5 separate regions of the Homo sapiens genome follow, and all the other regions are linked to region 3. The links are contacts of gene promoters, found by promoter capture Hi-C in blood cells and fetal thymus (Javierre and others, 2016). All regions are on one chromosome and are shown on one strand. The core of a region is centred on a gene start or on the middle of the fragment in contact, and the rest is flanking DNA. Distances in the headings are between cores, read along the strand shown.

What was found. The method cuts DNA at HindIII sites, captures the fragments that hold promoters and counts their contacts. A CHiCAGO score of 5 or more calls a contact.
Region 1: a contact is called between the fragment with the promoter of ETV7 here and the fragment with the promoter of CLPSL2 in region 3, in 2 of 17 cell types (total B cells and fetal thymus). The highest score is 5.5, in total B cells.
Region 2: a contact is called between the fragment with the promoter of ZNF76 here and the fragment with the promoter of CLPSL2 in region 3, in 4 of 17 cell types (total CD4 T cells, erythroblasts, non-activated CD4 T cells and 1 more). The highest score is 11.0, in total CD4 T cells.
Region 4: a fragment that was not itself captured here is called in contact with the fragment with the promoter of CLPSL2 in region 3 in 1 of 17 cell types (neutrophils); the score reaches 5.1 in neutrophils.
Region 5: a contact is called between the fragment with the promoter of BNIP5 here and the fragment with the promoter of CLPSL2 in region 3, in 7 of 17 cell types (neutrophils, total CD4 T cells, naive CD4 T cells and 4 more). The highest score is 8.4, in neutrophils.

Annotation. Positions count from the first base shown.
Region 1 is chr6:36,384,979-36,390,365 of GRCh38, forward strand. ETV7 (ETS variant transcription factor 7) reads right to left here and starts at 2,691. Exons shown (of 8, transcript NM_016135.4): 1 at 2,558-2,691; 2 at 556-691. The coding sequence starts at 2,563. ETV7-AS1 (ETV7 and PTX1 antisense RNA 1) reads left to right here and starts at 1,642. Exons shown (of 2, transcript XR_926758.3): 1 at 1,642-1,952. RefSeq lists an enhancer at 1,762-2,585 and a silencer at 2,712-2,921. The HindIII fragment of the contact is 3,834 bases long and covers 1,851-5,387 here.
Region 2 is chr6:35,256,723-35,262,190 of GRCh38, forward strand. It overlaps ZNF76 (zinc finger protein 76), which reads left to right and starts at 3,013. Exons shown (of 14, transcript NM_003427.5): 1 at 3,013-3,119. SCUBE3-AS1 (SCUBE3 antisense RNA 1) reads right to left here and starts at 2,733. Exons shown (of 4, transcript XR_001744102.2): 1 at 2,568-2,733. RefSeq lists silencers at 2,996-3,115, 3,126-3,445. The HindIII fragment of the contact is 17,247 bases long and covers 1-5,468 here.
Region 3 is chr6:35,775,293-35,780,774 of GRCh38, forward strand. CLPSL2 (colipase like 2) reads left to right here and starts at 1,306. Exons shown (of 3, transcript NM_207409.4): 1 at 1,306-1,410; 2 at 2,167-2,289; 3 at 4,063-4,260. The coding sequence starts at 1,327. The coding sequence ends at 4,158. RefSeq lists a silencer at 1,287-1,416. The HindIII fragment of the contact is 8,503 bases long and covers 1,098-5,482 here.
Region 4 is chr6:36,584,925-36,590,718 of GRCh38, forward strand. No RefSeq gene overlaps it. Among named protein-coding and RNA genes, the nearest start is that of SRSF3, 6.5 kb to the right of the region's middle. The HindIII fragment of the contact is 5,571 bases long and covers 223-5,793 here.
Region 5 is chr6:36,334,324-36,339,595 of GRCh38, forward strand. BNIP5 (BCL2 interacting protein 5) reads right to left here and starts at 2,565. Exons shown (of 12, transcript NM_001010903.5): 1 at 2,389-2,565. The HindIII fragment of the contact is 11,027 bases long and covers 834-5,272 here.

The DNA.
Region 1 (5,387 bases), core at 1,441-3,940, 610 kb after region 3:
GACAAATTATAAATAATAATTGTATATATTTATGCAATACAAAGTTATGGTATGAGATATATATAAAATTTTGGCCAGACACAGTGGCTCATGCCTGTGATCCCAGCACTTTGGGAAGCCGAGATGGGAGGATTACTTGAGCCCAGGAGTTTGAGAACAACCTGGGCAACATAGAGCAACCCTGTCTCTTATTTAAAAAAAAATTTAATTTTAAGGGCCAGGTATAGTGGTTCAGACCTGTAATCCCAGCACTTTGAGAGGCAGAGGCGAGAGGATAGCTTGAGCCCAAGAGTTCAAGACCAACCTGGGCAACATACTGAGATTCCCATTTCTACTAAAAATTTTAAAATTAGCCAGTGTGCCTGTAGTCCCAGCTATTGGAGAGGCTGAGGTGGGAGGATTACTTGAACCCAGGAGCTGGAAGTTGAAGGTGCAGTGAGCTATGATTACACCACTGCACTCTAGCCTAAGTAAGCAACAGAGCAAGACCCTGGATCTAAAACAAAATAAAAATTTACTTTTAAAAACTCAGCTTTTCTCCTCCCCTCTACTTACGGAGTCTTCCTGGCAGCTTGCAGATCCCCCCTTCACCCAGCAGGTTAATTTGAGCTTCACATCTGGCTTGCACGTGGGTGCCTAGGGGAGGCATGGCTGCCACAGGGCTTATAGGAGAAATAGCCAATTCTCCCTCCTAGAGAGAGAAAAACCAGGACAGTCAAAGAAGAGCATCTTGGTGAAGGCTCAGCCATCTTTAAATGTCTTAAGAATTTTTTTGGAAGGGAAAGAGTGTTTATCTCCACCAGAAGACTGCATCAACCTTAAAGGTAGGAACCATGTATATCTTCAACTCAGTACCATCAACATTTTGTACCCAGTGGACACAATAAATGACATCCTTCCAATTCAAGCTTTCCATGCATGTGCCTAACTCCAAGAGGGATCCCCTGCCAAGACTTGTATGATTGAAATCTGAAAGCCTAGGAATCCTCACTGGATCCCTGGTGAGGACAACACAGGAAACCTGAGGGGCCAGGATCAAAAGACCTTAAATCAGAAATAAACAAATAGACCAGGTGCGGTGGCTCACACCTATAATCTCAACACTTTGGGAGTCTGGGGCGGGTGGATTACTTGAGGTCAGGAGTTTGAGACCAGCCTGACCAACATAGTGAAACATTATCTCTACGAAAAATACAAAAATTAGCCGTGCGTGGTGACCGGCGCCTGTAATCCCAGCTACTCAGGAGGCTGAGGCAGGAGAATCACTTGAACCCGGGAAGCGGAAGTTGGAGTGAGCCAAGATCACGCCACTGCACTCCAGCCTGGGCAAGAGAGCAAGACTCCGTCTCAGAACAAACAAACACTATTTTCAAAAGAGAAAAAGAAAGGATAAGGATACATTTCTGAATCCTAAGGTCTCACCACGGGAAGCCTGTATCTTTACAATTCAACAATCAGCATGGCCCCCAGAGATGACGGGGTTCATCCATTCAGATGAGAAAATGAAGAAAGTGGCAGGATTTTGTAGGAATAGGAAGCTCCTTCGGGCTCATGCCCAGCCACAGGCTGCCACAGCACGGAAAGGAAAAGTGAAACCAGCTCCATCAAGTCATTTTTCACTCTAGGATTGTCAAAAGCTTTACATTCATCTCTTGGGATCCGAGGAGAGATATCTGCCGAGAGAGAATTTGGATCGGAGCCAGCAAAGCAAACTCCAGAAGCCTTGGCTGCTGCGAAAGGGGATTCAACACCTTTCCGGGTCGTTCTCACTTCATTTCCAGCCGGTCCCCCTTTGGTGCTGTTTCCCAAGTAATCAGACCTCAGGGGTTGCCTCCTGGTGGGGAAAGGGAAGCTTGCCTTGCTGGAGAAGGGGCTCAAGGCACAGGACTTGCCTCGGACTTGCCAAGGAGGCTTGCAGGAGGCTCTTTGTCTACTCCTCTGTCCTCATCCAAGTAAGAGGAGCGGGGAATTCCGAGGCTGTAACTGCCTGGGAAACGCCAGCCACGGAGCTGCTGAGGATCAGACTCCTGGGTTTCAGCATGGAGGCCAGGGAAGGGTCTGATAATGGGTATGGGTCCTGGCGAGAGGGGAGTGGAGAAAGGCCTTGGAGTGGGACGGGGCGCCAGCTCTGGGGGCAGTCTCGAGGCACCTAGAAAACCGGCGAGTGGGGAGAGGCTGCTAAAGAGGGGCTCCCTGCGAGAATGCGTTCACCAGCTGTGAGGACCTGGCTGGCGCACGAACTTCCAAAGACCTCACATCTGGTTGGTGTAGGGGCGACCAGTGGTAAGGGGGCTGCGGAAAGGGCCCGCAGGGGCTGTGCGTGATGCCTTCAGAGCTGTGTATGACACCGAGAGAGTCAGGGGCGGTGACCCGCGTCTGGAGGTGGAAGGGGAAGTGAGTGAGGGATGGATGTGAGGTTTAGGAATGTGTTGGAAAGAGAGATTCCCGCCAGGTAAAAGGTCTGATAAAATAGGTTTGGAAATCTAGGTGGTGAGGAAAGGATGCGGGAGCAGGTGGCTCTGCGTGCGCGCTGCGTGTTCAGCCGCCAGGCTCTTACCTGCATTACAGGTGGAGGTGAGGAAGCCACCGGCTTTCTGTCTTGAGCGCTCCCCTGGCTGTGGCTGCTGGGGCCCTAGGCCCGCGCCCCGCAGTCCTCCTCCGCCAAACCCCTAACCTGGCTCCGAGAACTGGAAGGTCGCGTGGGAGGAAATCTCTTTCGAGAAGCGCCAAGGCGTGTGCGCCCGGGTCCTCCGCAGGCGGGCAGGCGCGCGAGGCGCTCCGGTAATCGCTATCCTTCCGGGAAACGAAAACGAAAGAGCGGGATGCGGTTCCACTTGCGCCGCTGCGGGCTAGGAGCAGGGCAGGGCAGGGCAGGGGCCGGCCCCGTGGGAGCGCAGCACCGGGGCGCTGCCCGCTCGCTAGCCTGGGAGGCGTGGGTCCTGCACACAGCCTCCAGCCGGCGGACAGTCCCTCTGGCGACCTGGCCTTGGCTCCCACTGGGGCAGAGCCGGGATTCTGCAGGATCTGAGGATCTAAGGGGACCCCTAGTCCTGAACTCGGAACCAACTGCGTCTCTCACGGTCCCGAGCCCAGGACCAGGAAGGACCCTGTGAGTCTCCGCACATAGGATAGGAAGGGGCCTCGCATGGTGCCTCTCCCTTTAGGGGTGAGTGACCTTCCCGGCCCCGATACTGTCTCGGCCTGCCGTTTGGCCCCGCTGAGGCCCCACAGGTCCGGAACCGTCGCACCACCATCAGAGCGGCTGTGCTCTCCTGAGCAGGGCCAGACTACTCGGAGATCCCGACTGACACCTTTTCCTGGGCCTCTGGGTGCTCCGGGGTTGGTGCCTGCCCACCCATCACCCTTTCCATCTGTCTCAGCTCCCCCTGTCTCAAGAGAGGTTGTGCGCATAAAAACAAACCAGAAGACACCGAAGAAAAGGAAAGAAAAGCATTAACAACCTTCTGCTGAAAATCTGAGGGTGTAGACGCTGTTACAAAGTAGGCTTAGCACTGGTATATCATCACAAGCTCTAGGCCAGCAATAAGAAACCAGTAAGAACAAGGCCAGAAACCCAGTAGGAAAAAAAAATGAGCAAAGGATATGAATAAACAGTCCACATAAAAGGAAATGCCAAATGGCTCCTGAATATACAAAAAGATGCCCAGGGTGCAGTGGCTCATGCCTGTAATCCCAGCACTTTGGGATGCCAAGGTGGGAGGATCGCTTGAGCCCAGGAGTTGGACACCAGTCTGAACAACATGGTGAGATCCTGTCTTTACTGAAAATTTAAAAAATTAGCCGGGCATGGTGGGGCTACACCTGTAGCCCCAGCTATTCAGGAGGCTGAGGATGGAAGATCGCTTGAGCCTGAGAGTTGGAGGCTGCAGTGAGCCGTGACTGTGCCACTGCACTCCAGCCTGGGCAGCAGAGAAAGAAAAAGATGCTCAGACAAACTCACTATTTTAAATGTGCAAATTAAAGTTATTCTGAGATAGAAATTTTTACCCATAAATTTGGCAAAAATTTAAAAGTTTACTAACATAATCTGCTGGAAAAGCTGAGGTAAAGTGGTGCAACCCCACAGCGGGGTCTGGCAAATTTACAAATGCATTTTCCTTTCACCCAGCAATCTGCCTACCAGAAATTTATTCAACAAATATCCAAAGTATACATAGTTACTTATTTAATCATGGTTTATAATAGCAAAGTATGAGAAATAACTCAGGTGTCCACAAAAGGAGGCTTGATAAACTAATGCACATTCATTTCTTTTAATTTTAATTTTCTATTTTTTTTTTTTTTTTAGAGACAGGGTCTCACTCTGTCGCCCAGGCTGGAGTGCAGTGGTGCCATCAAAGCCCACCTTAACCTCCAACTCCTGGGCTCCAGTGATCTCCCACCTCAGCTCCCAAATCACTGGGATTACAGATGTGAGCCACCACACCCAGCCAAATTATGTACATTCATTTAACTGAATACAATACAACACTTTATGGAGTTCTCTGTGGATCATGGCAAGCTCTCCAAGAGGCAGTATGGCATAGTGGATAATAATCTAGACTTAGGAACACCTGCCTGGTTTGGAATCCCAGCCATGTCATTTACTGGCTGTGTGCCCTTGAGCAAGTTTGTGTTAACCACTCTACTGCCTCCCTCTACTAACTACTGCCTCAATTTTTTAACAGTAAAAAAGAGCAAATAATAATACCTATCCCATAAGGTTGTTATGAATAAGTAAGTTAACTTTTATAAAACACCCAGAACAGTGCCTGAACACCCACGCTAAGTAAAAAAATCAAGGTACAAAACAGTGTGTATTACATGCTACCTCTTGTATGTAAATATACGTGTGTGTGTGTGTGTGTGTGTATGTATGTATGTATGTATTAATTAGTATTTATACAAAGAACCTCTGGAAGGATACATAAAAACTAATAAGCATAACTGGAATTTAGAGTAGAAAATAATAGAAAGGGTTTTTGTTGTAAACCTTTTCACATGGTTGTGATTTTTTTTTTTTTTTCTGAGATGGGGTCTTGCTCTGTCGCCAGGCTGGAGTGCAGTGGCATGATCTCGGCTCACTGCAACCTCCGCCTCCTGGGTTCAAGCGATTCTCCTGCCTCAGCCTCCCGAGTAGCTGGGACTACAGGTGCGTGCTACCACACCCACCTAATTTTTGTATTTTTAGTAGAGACAGGGTTTCACCATGCTGGCCACAATGGTCTCAATCTCTTGACCTCGTGATCTGCCCACCTCGGCCTCCCAAAGTGCTGGGATTACAGGCGTGAGCCACTGTGCCTGGCCTTGTTTTGATTTTTGAATCATATAAATAAAAACCTATTCAAAATAAATTTTAAAAAGACAGTTTTAGGGCTAGTCAGCCA
Region 2 (5,468 bases), core at 1,763-4,262, 520 kb before region 3:
TCTGTTGAAGAGCTTGTTCATATATTTTTAAGTGGATGATGGTAGGCATTAGATTTTTAGGGTACTTGGAATCCACCGGATACTTTTTTTTAATGTGAGACAGTCTCACTCTGTAGCCCAGGCTAGAGTGCAGTGGCACGATCTCAGCTCACTGCAACCTCCGCCTCCCGAGTTCAAGTGATTCTCCTGCCTCAGCCTCCCGAGTAGCTAGGACTACAGGTACGCACCACCATGCCCGGCTAATTTTTGTATTTTTAGTAGAGACAGGGTTTCACCATCTTGGCCAGGCTGGTCTCGAACTCCTGGCCTCGGGATCCGCCTGTCTCAGCCTCCCAAAGTGCTGGGATTACAAGCATGAGCCACTGTGCCTGCCCTGCCAGATACATTAAGAATGATGTAGACCAAGTGTGGTGGCTCATGCCTGTAATCTCAGCACTTTGGGAGGCCAAGGCGGGCGGATCACGAGGTCAGGAGATCGAGACCATCCTGGCTAACACCATGAAACCCCGTTTCTACTAAAAATTAGCCAGGCATGGTGGCGCATACCTGTAGTCCCAGCTACTCGGGAGGCTGAGGCAGGAGAATTGCTTGAACCTGGAAGGGGAAGTTGCAGTGAGCTGAGATTTCGCCACTGCAGCACTCCAGCCTGGTTGACAGAGCGAGACTCCGTCTCAGAAAAAAAGAATGATGTAAGTCTTAGTTTAAGATGTCAAAATTTGAAATTGTATCCTCTATAAGTATTTAAATTAATGAAGGAAAATTTAGGTATCAACTTAAAAATGAACAAGAGGTACATAGCTCTTCAAAATTCTTTTATGGGTTCATTCTAAAAAATGTCTGAAGATCACCAGCCTATATGTTGAGTGGAAGGGATAGGAGAGAAACTGCTAGCAATGGTCTTCAATACTGCCCTCCAAAATATCCTCACCAATTCTCCTGAGAACCTGAAATTACCTTCCATTAGGATCATTACTTCAGATTCAGACACTGTTTCCCAGAGCTCTTGTTAAATGTATAATTGCAGAGGTGACTGGCCATCAGATTACGATCCGTAAGGAATGTGAGAAAAGACAGATATATATATACAGAGAGAGCTATGGAAAAAGGGTGGTTGGAGAGGGACAAACTCAGGTACAGCCTGAGTTCTATTCCCTGCGGTATTTCTAACCCTCAATTCATATTATAAGAGGAGCTACTTAATCTTCTCTCTGTATCTATAAGGTACTTTTTCTTTTTCTTTTTTTTTTTCTTTTTTTGAGACGGAGTCACACTGTTGCCCGCGCTGGACTGCAATGGTGCGATCTTGGCTCACTGCAACCTCCGCCTCCCGGGTTCAAGCAATTCTCCTGCCTCAACCTCCGGAGTAGCTGGGATTACAGGCGCCCGCCACCACGCCCAGCTAATTTTTTTGTATTTTTAGTAGAGAGGGGGGGTTTCACTATGTTGACCAGGCTGGTCTCGAACTCCTGACCTCGTGATCCGCCCGCCTCAGCCTCCCAAAGTGCTGGGATTACAGGCGTTTAAGCCACGGCGCCCGGCCTATAAGTTATTTTCTATGGGAAATAACTTGTCAAACTTCCACCAAAAAGGAATGGAAAGAGGGCAGCATAGTGGCCAGGCAGTTTATTTCCATACTAGGAGATACAGAAGGGATTAATTCTAACCGTAGGAATTCTAACCATCAAATGTCACTCACTGGCCTACCTAAACTGAACTCTGGTCCCAGCCAGAACAAGTCAGGAAGAGGGGATGTCTAAGACCGAAAGGGGGGCTTTCTAGTTAAGCTCTTCAGGCAGGAGAGGAAAAGGATGCCCGCATCCCCAAAGACACCTTTAGCTACCACAAGCCCCAAACCCCGTACTTTGTAACTGTGTCTAGTTTACGTCCTTTAAAAATTATTCTTATTAAGTTAAATTGTTTTCGGGGCGGGGAAGATACAAAAGAAACCAGTTAAAGTCTGAAAGGATAGAGAGGGGAAAGTTTCTCACCTCATTCTTCCAGCCACCCAGTTCCTCTCCTAAAAGGCAATCTTTACCAGTTCCTTCTCTAACGCCCCTCCTTTTTAATTTGATTTTTTACCGAAAGCTCGCTCCCTTTTAATTTTCCCTCAGGTTTCTGAAAATTTCCCAATCGCAGCCCCTCCCAGCAGGGAAATAGTAAAGGGGCTTGGTTTTTATGTTCAACCCAAAGCAAGCCTACAAAAGGGAGTAGTCGGTTTCGAGCCTGACGGTGGAGCTGACGCGGGAATGAGAGAGAACCTGAGAAGACCGCCAGGGCGCCCTCCCTGCGGAGGCGAGTCCCTCACCGCCCCTCTACATCGTCCTTTTCAATAAGGAGCTCTTAATACCTGCAACTGCTTCCTTCAAGGGGTGGCTGGAAGATCAGTAGGCAAGGCCTGCGGACTGCGCACCTTAAAGCGCTTCGGGACCGTAAGACAGTGAGTGCTGAGCGCGCGGCCGGGAAGAAGCCTGGAGGCTCTGAGCTCGGAGGACAGAGACCGAAGCCCCAGGGCCTGCGTCCCTCACAACCTGCGCCTCCTGTCCTCCCGCGCTACTCCCGAAGCGCACCTTCTCGCCCGCAGGCCGCAGAAGTGATGACGCAAAGCCCTCGGGGCCTCCGCCACCTCCTCACGCTTCTGCTGGACCGAATCCTTGGAATGGACAGGTAGCGGTTCCCGATTGCTATAGCGACGACCCGGCTCCGAGCCGCGCCCAGGCCCTGACCCGGGCGTCGTGACGTCAGCACGCCTTCCCTGGGCGCTCAGCCTCGCTGGCCATGCGTCACCCCGGCCTTGGTGGGGGCGGGGCTCCGAAGAGCTCGGTTCAGATCCCGGCCGCCTGGGCTCCAGGAGCCCCGGAACCAGGATAAGTTGGATGGCTGCCGCGGCGAAGCGGGGGGCGGGGTGGACCGTGCCCGGTATTTTCTATACGGGTTCCGGGGCCCGGTAGAGGCGCGCCAAGAGGAAAGGAAAGTGCGGCGGCCCTGGAACCTGGATATCGCGCGAGGCAAGCTGCGCGCGGGCGGGCGGGCTATGGCGCAGGCGGGTTGTGGGGCCGGCGCTGGTGGCGGGGCCCGGTGCATGGCGGTCTGTCGGCGGAGTCGCCCTCGGGGGCTGTCAGGTTGGTGGCTGCGGGAGGAGTGGGCCAACCATGCCCAGGGCGGGAGGCCGGGCGGGCGCAGGACCCCGGGAAGGTCCCGAGCCCGGCGTGCCCACCTCCCTCCGGCCCTAGCAGGGCGGCCTGGCCGCTGGACCGCGGCCGGGCCCCCTCCCCCACCCAGGGTCCCTGCCCCTCTTTTCCGCCTTGCGGCTCCTCCCCCGTGACTCCCAAACCTCACCCCGTGACGGCGCCCGCCTCCACCCTTGTGACCCCACACCCCACCCACTGACCCCAAGACCTCACCAGGTAACCGTTGGTTATTATTCATTGGCTGCTAACCCAGGAATTTCCCCAGCACTTCTCAGAGACCCACCAACCAGTGACTCCCTCAGTTTTAATCCGGTGACTCACATGACCCTGAGATCCCCACACTCCTCCTTAGTGACCCCCAAACCTGGGTAACCCTCCTGGCCCAGTAACCCCCCCGATTCTACCTTGTGTTCCCCACAAACTCGGTGACTCCCCTCAAAACTCTGCTGGCGACTCCTAAGCCCTACTCCAATAGTTTTCCACGCACTCACCTTGTACACAACCCTCAGTATCTTTATCCTGTAGCCGTATGACCCTCGTTCCACGTCTGCCTTTATCCTAAAATCACCCCCACTGGCATCTCTCTCTGCGATCCCAGCCCTTCAGTGTCAATCAGCACATGACTTACAAGCGTCCAGCACCTTTCTGGTGCTAAGGAGGATATAGAGATTAATATGAAGTAGTAATAATTGGAGGCATCAGAGAATTCTGGATCAATCCAGAATCCAGTCAATCCAGTGTGTGGTCCCAGCTCTGTCACTGCTGTGCTTTAGGGACCTGTGAGAAGTCCCCTCCTCAGTCTGGACCTCAGTTTCTCATCATGACTGTGATGAGGTTGGGTTAGATGATCTTTGAGTTTCCTTCCGTCTGTGAAATTGTGAAATTATGCAGTTCTCAGTCAAGATAATAATTTTTTGCAATCATTTTTGTACCCCACCCTGGAAATTTCCTCTTGTAACCTCATCCCAGGATCTGCTTGCATCATGAACCTTACTCCCTCATTCCCGGATCACCCTCTTCACTCTTCATAGTGCATACCCATTTCCCTTGATCAGGCCCCATCAGTTAACATGTTTGCAAAGCAGTATAGCAGAGTGCTTCATTTGGGGGCATTGAGTTCATAACAAACCTAGGTTCCAGACTGATTCTGGCCCTTCAGCTATGGGACTTTTGGTATATTATTTAGCCTGTCTTAACTTCAGTCTCCACCTCTGCGAAGGGAGAAAATAGTAGTGCCTGACATAACATATGTAAAGCACCGGGCACCATGCCTGGCTCATGGGAACCCTTAGCATAAGCTGTTGTTAGAAATGAGAAGCTGCTATGGATCTTACTCTGTCCTGAGTGCTAGGGATTTAACAGACTGAACATGTGGCCCATACCTTGCATTATGTTGCTACTACTGACATCTTGGAATCCCTATCTTCTCATCTCTGCTGTAGCCTCACTTCTCTGGTTCTTACCCTGATTTTGCCTCAATAACGATTGGCTTGCTGAATACCTACTGTGTGCCAAGCTCTGGATATATAAGTTAAATTTACGTCTCAACAGCCCCAAGAGTTAATTATTATTATATCCACCATTTTCCCTTCCCATATTTTTGTTTGGTTGGTTGGTTGGTTTCAGAGAAATGAACCAGAAACTCTCACAGCTAAGTAGCAGAGCTAAGATTTGAACCCACAGTTTAAAAAAACAAAACAAAACCCTACTCCATTGCCTGTCTTTCCCCCAGACTTACTCAACCTCAGCTCCTTATTCCTTATTTTCTAGTAATTCCTAAATACAACATCAGCTCGTTCCTTGATCCCTAAGGTTTCTGTTCTTGAGCTCCTAGCCTCAAGAGATCCTCCCACCTTAGCCTCTCAAGTAGTTGAGATTATAGGCGTGAGCCACCAAGACTGGCCCTGACCCCCAAGGTTTCTATTACCGTTTGCCATGTAACTTGGTGACTTTCTCATCCTGCTGTTCATGACTTTTGATCTCATATCCCCTGAAGCCCCTGCACCTTGTAGGGGAGGGAAAATATCTTCTTAGGTTCATGGCTTAGGCCCCTATAACAACAGATTTAATAAGAGAAGATTATATACATTTATTTAATGTAAGTTTTATGTGACAGGAGCCTTCATAAGGAAATGAAGACCTAAAGAAATGATTAAACTTGTATATTTTTATACTAGATCTGATGAAGAGTGGATAGTTGTGGAAAAATACAAAAAGGGTAATATCAAATAGTAATAAACTGGGAGAAACTTAGCAAGGCCTGTTTGTTCAGACTCTTCT
Region 3 (5,482 bases), core at 56-2,555:
GGCTCACGGAAATAATGGATACAAGGCCCTCTGAGTGCGGTGGGGGCTGTTATTCTTGGCTGTTATTCCCCACCAAGACAGGATTCCTCGGTTCATTTCTTAAGCGAAACTTCAAAAGCAGAAGCAGGCTGGGAGTGGTGGCTCACGTCTGTAATCCCACCACTTTGGGAGGCCGAGGCAGGAGAATCTCTTGAGCCCATGAGTTCAAGACCAGCCTGGACAACATAAGGACAACCTGTCTCTATAACAAATATTAACAATACAAAATTAAAAAAAAATAGAAATTAAAAAAAAGCAGAAGCAGGCAGGTGGGGTGAGGTGGAAGCTTCATCCATAGGGAAGTCCTGAGGAAGGCCTGCCTCCCCCGGTTCCAGGATTGCTCTGTGCAGCTCTAGCTCTCCCTTAACCCTCCTCCCTATTCTGAGTTTTCTTCTCTTCCCACTTCTCCATTTTGCCCCCACATCTTGACTTTCACACAATTCACAGACAAATCCTTAGACAATTAATAGAATGATTAAGACTGCAAGAGATTTAAGACTTAGAGACCATCTTGTCCCACCTCCTGGTTCTTACAGAAGAGGAGAATGGGGCCTGCAGCGGGTGTGAGCAGCCCAGAGGGTGGGGCTGGATTATCCCGAAGGTAAGGGGAGAATCTGGGGCTGCAAGGGCAGACAGAGAATCAACATCAGGAAGGAAGCTCTTTTTATTTCAGCATATATGTTTTGTGCCGTTTATAAAAATAAAGTTTTGAGGCCAGGTGCGGTGGCTCACACCTGTAATCCCAGCACTTTGGGAGGCTGAAGCAGGACCATCACTTGAGGCCAGGAGTTAGAGACCAGCCTGGGCGACATGGGGAGACCCCCGTCTCTACAGAAATTTTTAAAATTATCCCGGCGTGGTGGCGCACACCTGTAGTCCCAGCTACTCGGGAGGCTGAGGCAGGAGGATCACTTGAACCTGGGAGGCGGAGATGGCAGTGAGCCGAGATCACGCCACTGCACTGGGCGACAGTGCGAGACTCCGTCTGTAAAATAAATAAATACAATAAAATAGAGTTTTATCTTACAATAAAAATAGAGTTTTATCTTACAGTTTCAAGCTTCTACTTGGAAGTAACACGTATGGAGGCTCCCAGGGCCCCTACAGTCTGGAATCCCGCCCGTGCGAGCCTGAGCGCCTTTCCTCCCTCCTTCCCTTCCGCAGGCGTCCTCGCCCTCCACGTCCCTCCTCCGCCGGGGTGGCCTGGGGCGCCGGGTCACGTGGCCGGGGAAGAGGTTTTATCCCGCGGCCCCTCGGAACCCCGCCGCTGCTCTGCCGCCCAGGCCCATGGCCGCAGCCCTGGCGCTCGTGGCGGGGGTCCTGTCGGGGGCGGTGCTGCCCCTCTGGAGCGCGCTTCCGCAATATAAAAAGGTGAGCCGGGGAGCGCGCCCAGCCGGCCGCGACCGCAGGAGAGGGTGGCCCCGCCGCCGGGGCACTGGAGCCCGAAGGCGCCGGGCAGCCTGAAAGGGAGAGGTGGGTCCGGAACCACACCCAGGCGGGTAGCCTGGGGCATCCTCAGACGGACTTCAAAAGCCGCTTCACTTTCCCCTGGTGGCCTCAGAGGGGAGAGAAATTGGCCTATGACCAGCACCCTCGCTCCCTCCACCTCCCCCGCCCGTGCCCCTTCCGATGGCCTCAGTCCTGGGCTCGCTTCCCTCCCCAAACTGCTCACAGGCAAACCCACCCTGCATGCTCTGGTTTCTCCTCCTCTTCTTCCACCTCCTCTCACTGTCTAGTGATTCTTCCAGGCACGAGGGCTCTCCCCTTTTCTCCTCTTTCTCTCCCTCTTTTTCGAGCCCGCAGCCCCTTCATTCTCATCCCCCAACCCTGCCCCGCAAAATGGGACTTAAGAGTACACACCCCATGGGACTCATGGAGGTGAGGGGGGTCCAGGAAAGGAGAGGCCGAGGGAAAAGTGCTAATCCCCCTCTCCTCCTCTCTGCTGCCCTGGGTCCTGCTGAGGGGCCGGGGTGGGGCTGGGGGGGGAACCAGCCCCCCAAGGGGTGACAACCTCATGACTTCTCCTGGATCCCTGGGCTCTTTGGCAATGGTGGGAACCCTCCCCTACCCGCCCACACGACTCAGGGATTGCTCCCAGCCTGGCAGACATTCTGCCTGTCCCCACAGAAAATCACAGACAGGTGCTTCCACCACTCTGAGTGCTACAGTGGCTGCTGCCTCATGGACTTGGACTCCGGTGGAGCCTTCTGTGCCCCCAGGGCCAGAATAACCATGATCTGCTTGCCCCAGGTGAGGCCCTAGTATGGGGCAACTTCTGGCAAGTAGAGAAGCGGGCAGGGAGGTTAAAAAAAAAACACCTGGCCCCACCTGTTTTTTCACCTCTGTCTGGAGTGCCCTTCTTCTTCTCCACTTGGCAAACTCCTACTCATGGTGCAAAACAACTCCAGCCACCTCCTCTGAGAAGGCTTCCCTCCTTGGAGCTCCTGTACCCTGGGGTCAGACCCTCAGCAGACCATGTATCTCCCTAACTGGCCATGTCTTTTCTCTGCCTCTCCCAGTGGTTGGAACTCTTCAAGGGCAGGGATCGCATCATATTCATCTATGAAGCACCTACCCCCAGCTTAGTATCTGCACATAGTAGGTGCTCAATAAATGCTTATTGTTGTTTGTTTGTTTGTTTCGAGATGGAGTCTCGCTCTGTCACCCAGGCTAGAGTGCAATGGCATGATCTCGGCTCACTGCAACCTCTGCCTCCTGGGTTCAAGCGATTCTTGGGCCTCAGCCTCCCGAGTAGCTGGGATTACAGGGGTGCACCGCTATGCCTGGCTAATTTTCGTATCTTTGGTAGAGATGGGGTTTTGCCATGTTGGCCAAGCCGGTCTTGAACTCCTGACCTCAGGTGATCCACCTGGCTCGGCCTCCCAAGGTGCTGGGATTATAGGCATGAGCCACCGTGCCCGGCCAATAAATGCTTGTTGAATGAATGAATATCTCTTCTCTCACACCACTGAGGCAGGGTAAGTAGGAAATGACCTTCCCCTTACTAGTCCCCATCTCCCTGCCACAGTGACATGATTTCTTGAGAGGAGCATGGCACTGCAGTGGCAGGACCACAGCTTTGCAGTTGGACCTGAGTTTAAATCCTGACTTTTCCACACCCTATCTTTGTGACTTCAAGCAGGTCATCATGGCTCTCTGAGCCTTAGTTTCCTCATCTACAAGGAGAGGCTAAAGTACCTACCCCACCAGGCTGTTGGGAAGATTATGTGGTCCTGGCAAGGAGAGTGTGCAGTCCAGCATGGTTGTCACTCGCTTTTAGGAATGCAGGGAGCAGAATGCTCAGTACGCCCTGTTCCTGCCCACCTGGCCCTGGGCCCAAACCTTTCTAGGATGGATGGACCCAGCCTCTATGTCCCTGTGTGGGGAGTTGCCAATGCCCTAAGGAAGCAGCAGGGCCCCTACCATGGCCTGACCCTATAGCTGAAGTGGCTAGAGGGTTTTTATTTTTTTTATTTTTTGAGACAGAGTTTTGCTCTTGTTGCCCAGGCTGGAGTGCAATGGCGTGATCTTGGCCCACTGCAACCTCCACCTCCTGGGTTCAAGCAATTCCTCTGCCTCAGCCTCTGGAGTAGCTGGGATTACAGGCATGTGCTAATTTTTATATTATTAGTCCATGACCATGTTGGCCAGGCTAGTCTCAAACTCCTGACCTCAGGTGATCCACCCGCCTCGGCCTTCCAAAGCGCTGGGATTACAGGGGTGAGCCACCGCGCATGGCCTAAAGGGTCTTTTTATTATCACCACTTGATCTGCTCTATCTCATTTAGTCCTCACAACAACCCTATGAGGGGGGTTACTATTACTGTCCCCATTTGACAGATGAGGAAACCGAGCTGGAGAGGTTCATTGACTTGCTGAAGGTCACGCAGTTATAAGCTGTAGAGACAGCCCAGGTCTGTCTTACTCCAGGCCTGGTACTCTTGGTTCTGGTCCCCAAGAAGTTTAAGTCCCCATCCTTCCTGCATCCTGGTGACTCCCGATTCTCATACCCACTCCCTGCAGACCAAGGGAGCTACCAACATCATCTGCCCTTGCCGGATGGGCTTGACGTGCATATCCAAGGACTTGATGTGTTCCCGCCGGTGCCATATGATTTAGAGGAAGATGCAGGCTGGTCACTGCTCCCTTGGGGCCATAGGCCCTGGTTGCCACCAACTTGCTCCAAATCCAGCTCCTGAGACATTAAAGTCACTTCCTGTCCTTGGCCTCTGTCTGTACTTTCTGGGCGAGGGGACCTGGTGGAGATTGTACCAGTCCAGGGGGCAGGCAAAAGGGGAGACTGGAGGCATGAATGAGCTTCTAATGGGATTTGGCCCTGTCCGGAGGTCAGGGTAGAACTGCAGGAAGGGAATGGCACAGGGAGGGTGTGGTGGAGCAGGGGCTGGGTCTGGGAAAGGGCTGATTCTCTGGTTGGAGGGCTGTGTGGGAGAGACGGGATTGAGGAATGTACCTGGAGAGTGTATGTTGGGGTGCCTATGGAGGGGTGTGTGGTAGGGAGAGACTAGGTGGAGGTATCTGAATGTTTTGCGGGGCGGGTTGTGGGGCACAAAAGGGTAGAGATCATTAGAGAGTTGGTGAGAATGTGCAAAGTATAAATGCAGAAATGCCTGTGGTGGGAAAGGGACCTGGTGCATGGATGCCTCCGCTCTCTCAGGTATTGTCGGTTCACTGCATGGACAAAGAAACTGAGGCCCAGAGAAGCGACATGACTTGCCCTAGGTCATATCATTGGGGTAGCAGTGAGGCCTCTTTCTGCTGCAAGTATCTTAAAAACCAACTCAAATTGGTCTAGGTGAGGAGGGGATTTACTGGTGATGGGAAATGAAAGTCCAGAGGTCAGGCAACCCTTAGGTAGGGCCAGAGCCAGCAGCTCTCAGGCTGAATTCCTTCCCAGTAGTCACAAACATTCCAGGTGTCACCTAATAACAGGTAGGATTTATTGAGCACTTCCTATGTGCCAGACACTGTGCAAAGTGCTTTCTTTTTCATTTAATTAAAAAATTTAAGACAGCACCCAGGCTGGAGTGCAGTGGCTCGATCGCAGCGTACTGCAGCCTCAACCCCCTGGGCTCAAAAGATCCTCCCACGTCAGCCTCCCAAGTAACTGGGACTACAGGTGTGTGACACCATGCCCGGCCAATTTTTTTTCTTTTTCTTTTTCTTTTTTTTTTTTTAATAGAGACAGGGCCTCACTGTATTGCCCTGGCTGGTCTCAAACTCCTGGGCTCAAGTGATCCTCCTGCCTCAGCCTCCCAAAGTGCTGGGATTACAAGCATGAGCCACTGCGCCTGGCCCAAAGTGCTTTCTTAACTGTATTGACTCATCTTTTTGTCACAACAGGGCTATAGTAGGTGTTATAATTATCCCTATTTTACAAACAGGGTATCGAGGCTCCTAAAGTAAGGGTTGGAACTGAGACTTG
Region 4 (5,794 bases), core at 1,758-4,257, 810 kb after region 3:
CAAGTCTCCTGCCTCAGCCTCCTGAGTAGCTGGGATTATAGGTGCCTGCCACCACGCTGGACTAATTTTTGTATTTTTAATAGAGATGGGGTTTCACCATGTTGGCCAGGCTGGTCTCGAACTCCTGACCGCAGGTGATCTGCCTGCCTCTGCCTCCCCTAAGTGCTGAGATTACAGGCATGAGCCACCGTGCCCGGCCACCAAAGCAATTAAGTTTTAAAAAGCTTAAAACTATGTAATTTGTAAAAACACTCTTTTCACATAGTTGTCCAGGATACAGAACTAAAATGACCTTTTAAATGACTATCTATTGTAATTGTGTGTGCTTATTTTCTATTTGTCCCTGTAGATCAACACAGTCCAGTAGACATAGAATGAGAGCTACATATGTAATTTTTTTAGAGGTGGGGTCTTGCTGTGCTGTCCAGGCTGGAGTGCAGTAGCTACTGGTAGTGCCATGATAGCGCATTACTCTTGCCTCAGCCTCCAGAGTAGTTGGGACTATGGGCCCATGCCACCTTGACTGGCTAATTTGAAATGTTCTGGCAGCCACAGTTAAAAAGTATAAAGAAACAGATAAAATTAATTTTTTTTTTGGTTTCAGACAGAGTCTTGCTCTATTGCCCAGGTTGGAGTGCAGTGGTGGGATCTTGGCTCACTGCAACCCCCACTACCTCTGTTCAAGCCATTCTCCTGCCTCAGCCTCCCGAGTGCTTGGGACTACAGGCACCCACCACCATGCCTGGCTGATTTTTGTGTTTTTAGAGAGACGAGATTTCACCATGTTGGCCACAAACTCCTGACCTCAAGTGATTCACCCGCCTTGGCCTCCTACATTGCTGGAATTACAGGCATGAGCCACTGCGCCTGGCCAAAATTTATTTATTTATTTAGAGACAGAGTCTTGCTCTGTCGCTTAGGCTGGAGCAACCTCTGCCTCCCGGGTTCAAGCGATTCTCCTGCCTCAGCCTCCCGAGTAGCTGGGATTACAGGTACCCGCCACCATGCCCAGCTAATTTCTGTATTTATAGTAGAGTCAGGGTTTCACCGTGTTGGTCAGGTTGGTCTCGAACTCCTGACCTCAGGTGATCTGCCCTCCTCAGCCTCCCAAAGTGTTGGGATTACAGGTGTGAGCCACTGTGCCTGACTGAAATTAATTTTAATATAGTTTATTTTATTTATTTATTTATTTATTTATTTTTTTGAGACAGGGTATCGCTCTGTTGTCAAGGCTGGAGTGCAGTGACATGATCTCAGCTCACCGCAATCTCTGCCTCCCGAGTTAAAGTGATCCTCTCACCTCAACCTCCCTGGTAGCTGGGACTACAAGCGTTTGCCACCATGCCTAGCTAATTTTTGTATTTTTGATAGAGATGGGGTTTCACCATGTTGCCCAGGCTGGTCTCAAACTCCTGAGCTCAAGCGATCTGCCTGCCTCGGTCTCCCAAAGTGCTGGGATTACAGGTGTGAGCCACTGTACTCAGCCCTTAATCTAGTTTTTTAACTCAGTACATCAAAACTATTTGAACTTGAAATCAAATGAAATAATGTATTATTTTTTCATACAAAGTCTTTAAAATCCAGCATGTATTTTTCATTTACAGCACATCTCAATTAGGACTAAACTTGCCACAGGTACCTGTGGCTACCATATTGGACAGCACAACCCTAGATCAGTTCTCTAGCCTTCTCAGCCCTGCTCTGTGCCCTGGCCAACCAACCTCTAGACTTGTATCACCCAGCTCTCTTGCCCTCAGGCTTCCAGTTGGTTTTGAGCAAAAGATGTCACCATTAAAAGATGGGACAATGGAGAGAGTGGTTCTAGCCCCACACCCCCAAAACTGGGCTGCCACAGTTCCTCTATCTAAAGCTATAATAGCTCATCTCCCACAGCAACAGCAGCTGGCTGTTTTTGGTAACCCTGCTCCCTTCCTTGCCCCATTGGGCCTACGAGCTGCCTTTGGGATTGCCCTTACCCACTATGGGTTTCCTTAACTCTGCCCACACCCCTGTACATAATTCCCTATGTGGTTAACTCTTTAAGTGTGCCATCTGGTTTCTGCCAGGATCTTGACTGAACCATGTAGTTAATGAACTATTGTGATGGTTCATGCTCTTTTTTAAAAAATTTTTACTTTTTTTTTGAGACGGAGTCTCACTCTGTGGCCCAGGCTGGAGTGCAGTGGCACAACCTTGGCTCACTGCAACCTCTGCCTCCCGGGTTCAAGAGATTCTCCTGCCTCAGCCTCCAGAGTAGCTGTGATTACAGGTGTGAGCCACCATGCCTGGCTAATTTTTGGGTTTTTCTTTTTTGAGACGGAGTCTCGTTCTGTTGCCCAGGCTGGAGTGCAGTGGTGTGATCTCGGCTGACTGAACCTCTGCCTCCTGGGTTCAACCGATTCTCCTGCCTCAGCCTCCCTAGTAGCCGAGACTACAGGTGAGTGCCACCATGCCCAGCTAATTTTTTGTATTTTGAGTAGAGACGGGGTTTCACTGTGTTAGCCAGGATGGTCTCGATCTTCTGACCTTGTGATCCTCCCACCTCGGCCTCCCAAAGTACTGGGATTACAGGCGTGAGCCATCGCGCCCAGCCAATTTTTGTATTTTTTAGTGGAGATGGAGTTTCACCATGTTGGCCAGGCTGGTCTCAAACTCCTGACCTCAGGTGATCCACCTGCCTCGGCCTCCCAAAGTGCTGGGATTACAGGCATGAGCCACCACGCCCAGCCTGTGAAGGTTCATACTGTTTAAGATTTTCCTTCACGGATACTTGAAGTCAATCACAATATTTAAAACATTAAATATTTTATTATTTATTTATTTATCTATTTGTTTTGAAACGGAGTCTCACTCTGTTGCCCAGACTGGAGTGCAGTGGTATCTTGGCTCACTGCAACCTCTGCCTCCTGGGTTCAAGGGATTCTGCTGCCTCAGCCTCCCAAGTAGCTGGAATTACAGGCGCGCACCATTATGCCTGGCTAATTTTGGTATTTTTAGTAGAGACAGGGTTTCGTCATGTTGGCCAGGCTGGTCTCAAACTCCTGACCTCAGATGATCTGCCTGCCTCAGCCTCCCACAGTGCTTGGATTATAGCCAAAAAAAATTTTTTTTTCTTCTTAGAGACAAGGTCTTGCTATGTTGCCCAAGTTGGAGTGCAGTGAAATAATCATAGCCCACTGCAGCCTCGAACTCCTGTACTCAAGAGATCCTTGCCGTCTCAGCCTCCTGAGTAGCTAGAACTACAGGCATGCAGCACCACTTTGCTAATTTGTTTTTTTAAATTTTTGTAGAGACAATAGTAAAACTGCTGGTTTCAGAACACCTGGCCTTAAGCGATTCTCCCATCTTGGCCCCCCAAAACATAAAACATTAAACCAGGCTGGGTGCAGTGGCTCACGCCTGTAATCGCAGCACTTTGGGAGGCTGAGGCGGGTAGATCACGAGATCAAGAGATTGAGACTATCCTAGCCAACATGGTGAAACCCTGTCTCTACTAAAAATACAAAAATTAGCTGGGCTTGGTGGCGCATGCCTGTCGTCCCAGTTACTCAGGAGGCTGAGGCAGGAGAATCACTTGAAACTGGGAGGTGGAGGTTGGAATGAGCCAAGATCATGCCACTGAACTCCAGCCTGGTGACACAGCAAGAATCTGTCTCAAACAAACAAACAAAACAACAACAACAAAAACATTAAACCTTATACAAAACTCTTAGCACCTGGCCATCAGTAATTTCTTTCTTTTTTGAAAATTTTTTTTTTCTGAGCAGAGTCTCACTATGTGCCCCAGGCTGGAGTGAAGTGGTGCAATCTCAGCTCACTGCAACCTCTGCCTCACAGGCTCAAGTGATCCTCCCAACTCAGCCCCCTAAGTAGCTGGGACTATAGGCGCACAACACCATGCCCAGCTAATTTTTGTATTTTTTTGTACGGGGCGGGGGGGTCTTGCTATGTTGTCCAGGCCAGTCTCAAACTCCTGGCCTGAAGTGGTCCTCTCGCCTCAGCCTTTCAAAGTGCTGGGATTACAGGCATGAACCATTGTGCCCAGCATTTTTTGTTTTTAATTTTAAATTAAACATTTTTTAAATTTTAAGTTAAAAAATATATATACGTGGCCAGGTGCAGTGGGTCACACCTGTAATCCCAGTACTTTGGGAGTCCGAGGCGGGCGGATCACTTGAGGTCAGGAATTCCAGACCAGCCTGGCCATCATGGCGAAACCCTGTCTCTACTAAAAATAAAAAAATTTGTTGGGCGTTGTGGCAAACGCCTGTAATCCCAGCTACTTGGGTGGCTGAGGCAGAAGAATTGCTTGAACCCAGGAGCCAGAGGTTGCAGTGAGCCAAGATCACACACTGAACTCCCAGCCGGGGCGACAGAGTGAGACTCCATCTCAAAAACAAACAAACAAACAAACAAAAATAGTGAATTGGTAACAGGTGAATTTTAGAATTGAAAGGTAACTTAGTACCATGCTCTCAACTTGAGATAGTGAGAAGTCTGTGTCAGAATAATTTTTGTACTTGGAATCTTGGCCTGGTGTGGTGGCCACTTTGGGAGGCAGAGGCAGGAGGATCACTTGAGCCCAGGAGCTCGAGACCAGCCTGGCCAACATAGCAGGACCCCCACCTCTGTAAAATAAAATAAAAAAGAATATTTGTATTTAGAATCTTTCTGATGTCTAATGACAGGAAAAAATCTAACTCAAAGTGGCTTAAGCCACTTTGAGGAAAGTGTAGGAACTTGTATGGTGATCTCTTTGTGGTGGGTGTTCTGGTTCCAGGACCCCTGAGGATACCAAAATCCAAGGATGCTCAAGTCCCTTATATAAAATGTAGTATTTGCATATAATCTATGCACATCCTCCCCTATAATTTAAATCAACTCTACATTAATTATACCTAACACAATATAAGTAAATGGTTGTTATGCTGTATTATGTTTTATTCTTTTAAAAAATATTTTTGATCTGCAGTTGGTTGCAGGAACCTGAAGATACAGAGGGCTGACTGTATGTTCAAGTAACTGGGAATTCAGGCTGGGCTTTGTGGCTCCCACCTGTAATCCCAGCACTTTGCGAGGCTGAGGCGGGCGGATCACCTGAAGTCAGGAGTTCAAGACCAGCCTGGCCAACATGGTGAAACCCCGTCTCTACTAAAAATACAAACATTAGCCGGGTGTGGTGGTGCACACCTGTAATCCCAGCTACTTGGGAGGCTGAGGCACAAGAATTGCTTGAACCTGGGAGGTGGAGGTTGCAGTGAGCCGAGACCTCGCCGATGCACTCCAGCCTGTGCAACAGAGCAAGACTCCATCTCAAAAAAAAGAAAAAAAAAAAAGCCTTCTTAAGCAAGACTCTCCATGGCTCCTTATTTCCCACCTTGCAGTTCTCCTTCCCACTGTGTTGGGTCTACCTCAGGCTGCTTCTTCCCTCCTGGAAACAGGCTGGCTGCCCCGGCTCAGGACTGTGCTAATCAGGGGAAATAGCACACCTCTCTCTGGTTGGCCTATGAACAGTGCTGGATCAGCAGCTGACTGGTCTGACTGGATTACTCATCCTCATTCCTAATGGTGGGGGAGGCACAAGGGAAGGACTAAGAACTTGGATGATTTAATTAATCCAGAATGGTTACCTCCCTACCCCTGAAAAAGAGGGGTGTAGGACCCAACCACATTCAAATCAATAATATGTACTACTGTGAGAAAGGTGGTTTCCCAAAGAAAATCAAGAGATATTCCTACAACATATGATTCCCATTCTGTGTCTGTACCAAAAACCCTGATATGTCTCCTTGAA
Region 5 (5,272 bases), core at 1,315-3,814, 560 kb after region 3:
CTGCTATCCAAGAGTTTCCCCAGTGAAGAGATTCCAGGGTCTCCCAAGGTTTCCTAATTCCAAATCCAGTGGCCTCTTCCCATGTCTTGTCCTCCCTTACGTGCTTCAGTATTTGATACCAGCCCTACTTCCTTCTTTTCTCTTTCCTCTCTGGGTGGCTGTGACTGTCCTCAGTCCAGCTCTCTCCTCCCTCTCCCCCGCTCCAACTGCTCCTCCTCTGTAATGTTCCAAAGATTGTCTTCAGCTCTAGGCCAGGGATTGAGACAGCGCGGCTGACTGGGGAAGACACACCCACACGCCCCCAGGAAGACCCCTGAAGAACCTCTGCGGATGGGGTGTCCTCAGTCTCTAAGCCCTGGGAAGCTTGTCTTTTAATCCTAATAACCTCCCCTTTCCTACATGTGCCAAAATTAAACCGTTCAAGACTTTCCAAATATAAAATTCTGCTATCCAGGATTTATCAAAGCAAGACTTTCCTTTCCTTTCTTCTTCTTTTTTTGTTTTGTGCCCCAGGTGCTCAACTACGTTCAGTCCGACCACCAGGGAATCCCACCCTGTGCAGACTGTGCTCCAGACCAGGAATCCTAAGTGAGCAGCGTGGTCTCACTATGCGGAAACCCAGCTGATCTTGTAAACTTGTTATTGCCTTGGCCGAAAGTGGATGTCAGAGCAAAGTCCAAATCAGCTCAGAAATACCCAAGTGATCTGCACATCACAAGACTGCTTCTGATAAGATGTGACATTTACCGGTGACATGTCCAGCAACAGCAACAAAGAACCAGAGAAGGCTCACAAAGCTGACCCTGGAACGGGAAGTTTGCTTGCCTTCCCCAAGCTTGCTGCTGTGTGTTGTTTACTTTCTAAGTTGCACGGTGACCTCATCTCTATGCTGTTCTCTAATTTGTTCACCTGGCCGCGTTACTCTCTAACTGCTCTGGTGCCTTTCATGGAGATAACTTCGCGGCTCCCCTTCTCCACCCCATGATTCACACAATAGAAACTTCACAGAGAGCCAACCTGCTGCACACCCACAGCAGCACCCTGAGGGACAGAGTGTGTGGCACACACACGTGGACCCACAGTCAACACCACAGACATCCACGTGTCACCAGAACACACTTGTGCACACCACAGACCAACATGGACTCAAGACGCCCTGTATTTCTCCTGTCCCAAGTGTAAGGGAATAATTATGTGACCAAGCTCACCGCTTGCCATCGGTCCTAACTCTAAATTCCATGAGAGGGGACCTGAGCCTGGGAGGCTCTCAGTGTTTGTGAAACAAACAAATGATACACAGGCATGTGCAAACCCAAACCAGCTCACCTTCATGCAGCCACACGGCGTCCAGAGAGCCGTTTCATTGACATGATCTCATTTCATCTTTGCCAGGAGCAGTGAATCAGATGGGCTAACAGTGGGGCACTGAGGCTCCGGACCATTAAGAGACACGCCCAAGGTCACATAGCCGGGAAGCAGAGAGCTGAGACTCTCCCACTTCTCCCGATTCAAATCCTACATTCTCTATTCTACACCAAATGGCCTCATGTAAGCATAGATACACATGCACGCACTTACACATGGACTTAGGGGAGAAACCTGCTATTTCACACTGATGGAGGTAATCACAGTCACATACACACCTACCATGACCTATGCACATGGAGTCACACAATCACGTGTGCCTAGGTATAGACACCCATGCCCTCCCCACCCCATTCTGTCCTCTATCCAAGACCACGGGCAATGCAACACTGTGTGAGGAGTCGGTCAGGACTGTGGGTTATAATCCACCTCCCAGCCTCTACATTCCCATCCAAGAGAGCAGTAGACCATGAGTTATTTTAATAAGATTTCCCCATTCTTGGACTAACTTCCAAAAACCTTAAAACTCATAGAACCTTAATTTAACCATAGGTCATAATAACACCTCTCATTTATCAGGGGGTTCCCTCATGTACCTTCACATAAAGTCTATAACTTGACCTCTACCACATCCTGAGGGAAACTAGCAGGTGAGCTATGTAATGCTGCCCCATCCTACAGACAAGAAAACTGAGGCCCAAGGAAGTGAAGTTCCTTGCTCAGGGTGGCGGCTAATAAGCAGGATTGGGACTTGAATACAGAGTTTTAAGTCCGAGTGAGCCCAGAGCCCTTTGAGAAACACCCCGTTGAGATAATGTCATTGAACCTTGCTCCCTCTTTTTAGAGATAAGAAAACTGATCCCCCACCTCCACCCCCATTGCCTCTCTGGGAGGGCCCAGCATGCTGGAAGCAGCATTGGGACTGGACTCTTGGTTTGACACCCAGGACTAAACTCTTCTCCGGACCCCAAGATACATACCCACTGCTCCCGCCCCCAAAGGAGAGGGTATTGTTCAACCAACCTTGGACCACAGAAATCGCTTCTGTCCTGAACACCCTGGGCTGGGATCTTCAGACAAGAGGTCTCTGTGTTAGGCTCTGCTCCCTGTCAGCTGGAAGTTGTGTCCAGTGAGAAGTCAGACCCAGCTCTCCCAGGGAGAAGATGCCACTACTTTGGTGCTGGCAATTTTCTGAGTGTCTCAGAAGATGCTTTGGCCGTCCATATATACAGTATCTCCCAGGAACTGAGCTCATGGCAGCCAATCCAGAGAGCCATGGGCTGGCTCACCTTCCTCCACCTGTTACCACCCATCCCAGGACTGCTCCCCGCTCCTCCAATGATAAGAGGCTTAGCTCAGCTACCCTGGAAAAAACAGTTTCACTTGTCAACTTCCTTATTGCACCCAAACCCCAGTAAGAAACCAAAGCTCAGAAAATAACCTAAGGTCTGGCTGGGGAAAACCCCACCTGTAGAGTTGAAAACAAGACTTAATGGGAAATGCAGGTTAGGGGGAGAAAGTCGAGGTGGCTTTATTGCCTTTACAACATCCCTCAGTTATCTTTGAAGATTAGTGGGGAGGGAGGTACCTAGAAAGAAAGGTCAGCGATGGGATACATACATCCCTTGACCTGGAGACAACCCAGAAGGAAGAGCCCACAAGAGCCACGTGTTCCAGATCTGCTATGCCCGGGAAGGGTTGCCATGGATCTTGAGAGAACATTCTAAGAAGTCTTAAAAAGTCAGATTTCCACTTTCTGTAATGCCTTATTTTAAAAAATAGAGTGTAAATACATGTTTATAATCAGAAAAGAAAAACATGTTTTATTAAAATGAAAGCAAAGGCCGGGCACGGTGGCTCACACCTGTAATCCCAGCAATTTGGGAGGCTGAGGCAGGCGGATCACCTGAGGTCAGGAGTTCGAGACCAGCCTGGCCAACATGGCGAAACTCCATCTCTACTAAAAATACAAAAATTAGCCAGGTATGGTGGCAGACACTTGTAATCCCAGCTACTTGGAAGGCTGAGGCAGGAAAATCACTTGAACCCAGGAGGCAGAAGTTGTAGTGAGCTGAGATCGTGCCACTGCACTCCAGCCTGGGTGACAGAGTGAGACTCTGTCTCAAAAAAAAAAAAAAAAAAAAAAAGAAAAAAAAAGAAAAAAATATTAAGAAATTCTGTTTTGGTTCATTAACACAGGGAGGCATCACAAAATATATATGGAAGCACCAAACTTTGGAGTCAGCCCCATCTGGAGACACCTGCCAGCTGTGTAACCACAGCAGGGGACATGATGTCACTGAGCTTGTGCTCACTTATAAAACAAGTAGTCATCTCAGAGGGTAGTTGGGCCAAATGCGATAATGCTTACAAAGAAAAGAAGAAGGCCAGGCATGGTGGCTCACATCTGTAATCCCAGCACTGTGGGAGACCAAGGTAGGAGGATTGCTTGAGCCCAGAAGTTCAAGACCAGCCTGGACAACATAGTGAGATCTTATCTCTACTAAAAATTTTAAAAATTAGCCAGGCATGGTGGCACATGCCTGTAGTCTCAGCTACTCAGGAGGCTGAGGCAGGAGGATTGCTTGAGCCCAGGAGGTCAAGGCTGCAGTGAGCCATGATCGTGCTACTGCACTCCAGCCTAGGCAACAGAGTGAGATCCTGTCTCAAAGGAAAAAAGAAGAAAGGAAGGAAAGGAAGGAAAAAAAGAAGGAAAGAAAGGAAGAAAGGGAGGGAGGGAGGGAGGAAGGAAGGAAGGAAGGAAGGAAGGAAGGAAGGAAAAAGAAAGAAAGAAAGAAACAAAGAAAGAGAAGGAAAGGAAGGAAGAAAGAGAAGGAAAGGAAGGAAGGAAATGTATGGAGTGCCAGACATCTTTCTTTCTGTGTATTAACAGTGCCTGGTACTTGTAAGGGCTCAATAAAGGGCCAATGTTTTATTACGGGCAACAGAGTTATTAATGCTTCATTCATTCTGTCAACAGGTTTTGGATCCAGCTATGTGACAGACACTGTCTCAGCACTAAATTTAGAATTTATTAGTCCAAGAAGTCACTCAGCCTTCAAACAAATGTTAAATAATATTACATATTTTTCATTTATTTAATGAAACTATTGTGTCAACCACTTCTTCCAGGCCCTGTGTGTATTGTATGTGTTCTTTCTTATTCCAAGGTGAATATGCCCAGCCTGGCCCAGCCCTCATGGAGTCCATAAAGTAGTTGGGAAGAGAGAAACACACAGAGAAAAATCATACAAGCAAGCAGAAGGGAATAGGAAGTTGTTTAATGCGTACAGAGTTTCAGTTTGAGAGGAATGTGGTACCACTACCTCCACCATTCAACCATCTCCACAACTTTTGAGATGTGGAGGATTTTCACAAGGCACACTCAAACTCAACTTTTGAGTTTGGAGATGGTTCAATGGTGGAGAGTGGTACAACAATCAAAATGTGCTTAATGCCACTGCACCGTACACTTTAAAAAGGTTACAACAGTCAACTTTATGTCATGCATATTTTACCACAATAAAAAGAAGGGGAGGGGCAGACAGCCACGTGGCACACCGTGCAGACATCTCCCATGTACCCAGCAATCCCATCTGCAGGTACATACGCTCCTAGGTTCTCACGGGAGGGAGAACCATCATGGGCAGCTCTGGGCATCCCACGCCTTCTCCATCAGGGGTCCGGGGGGCAACCTAGCCCTGTGCTCAGTGCCTGCCAAAGACCATATCCTGGAGACGATCTCCACGATCTGGAGACAGACTCTGGCAGCTGCCTGTCCCAGGGCCAAGGTCGGCTACACTACGAGTGAGCCCCCATGCAAAATGAAAACAAAGCACCCTTGTTCAAAACGTATTAATAGTTTCAAGACAGACAGCAGAACATTAAACCAAGCCCCCTGCCCTTC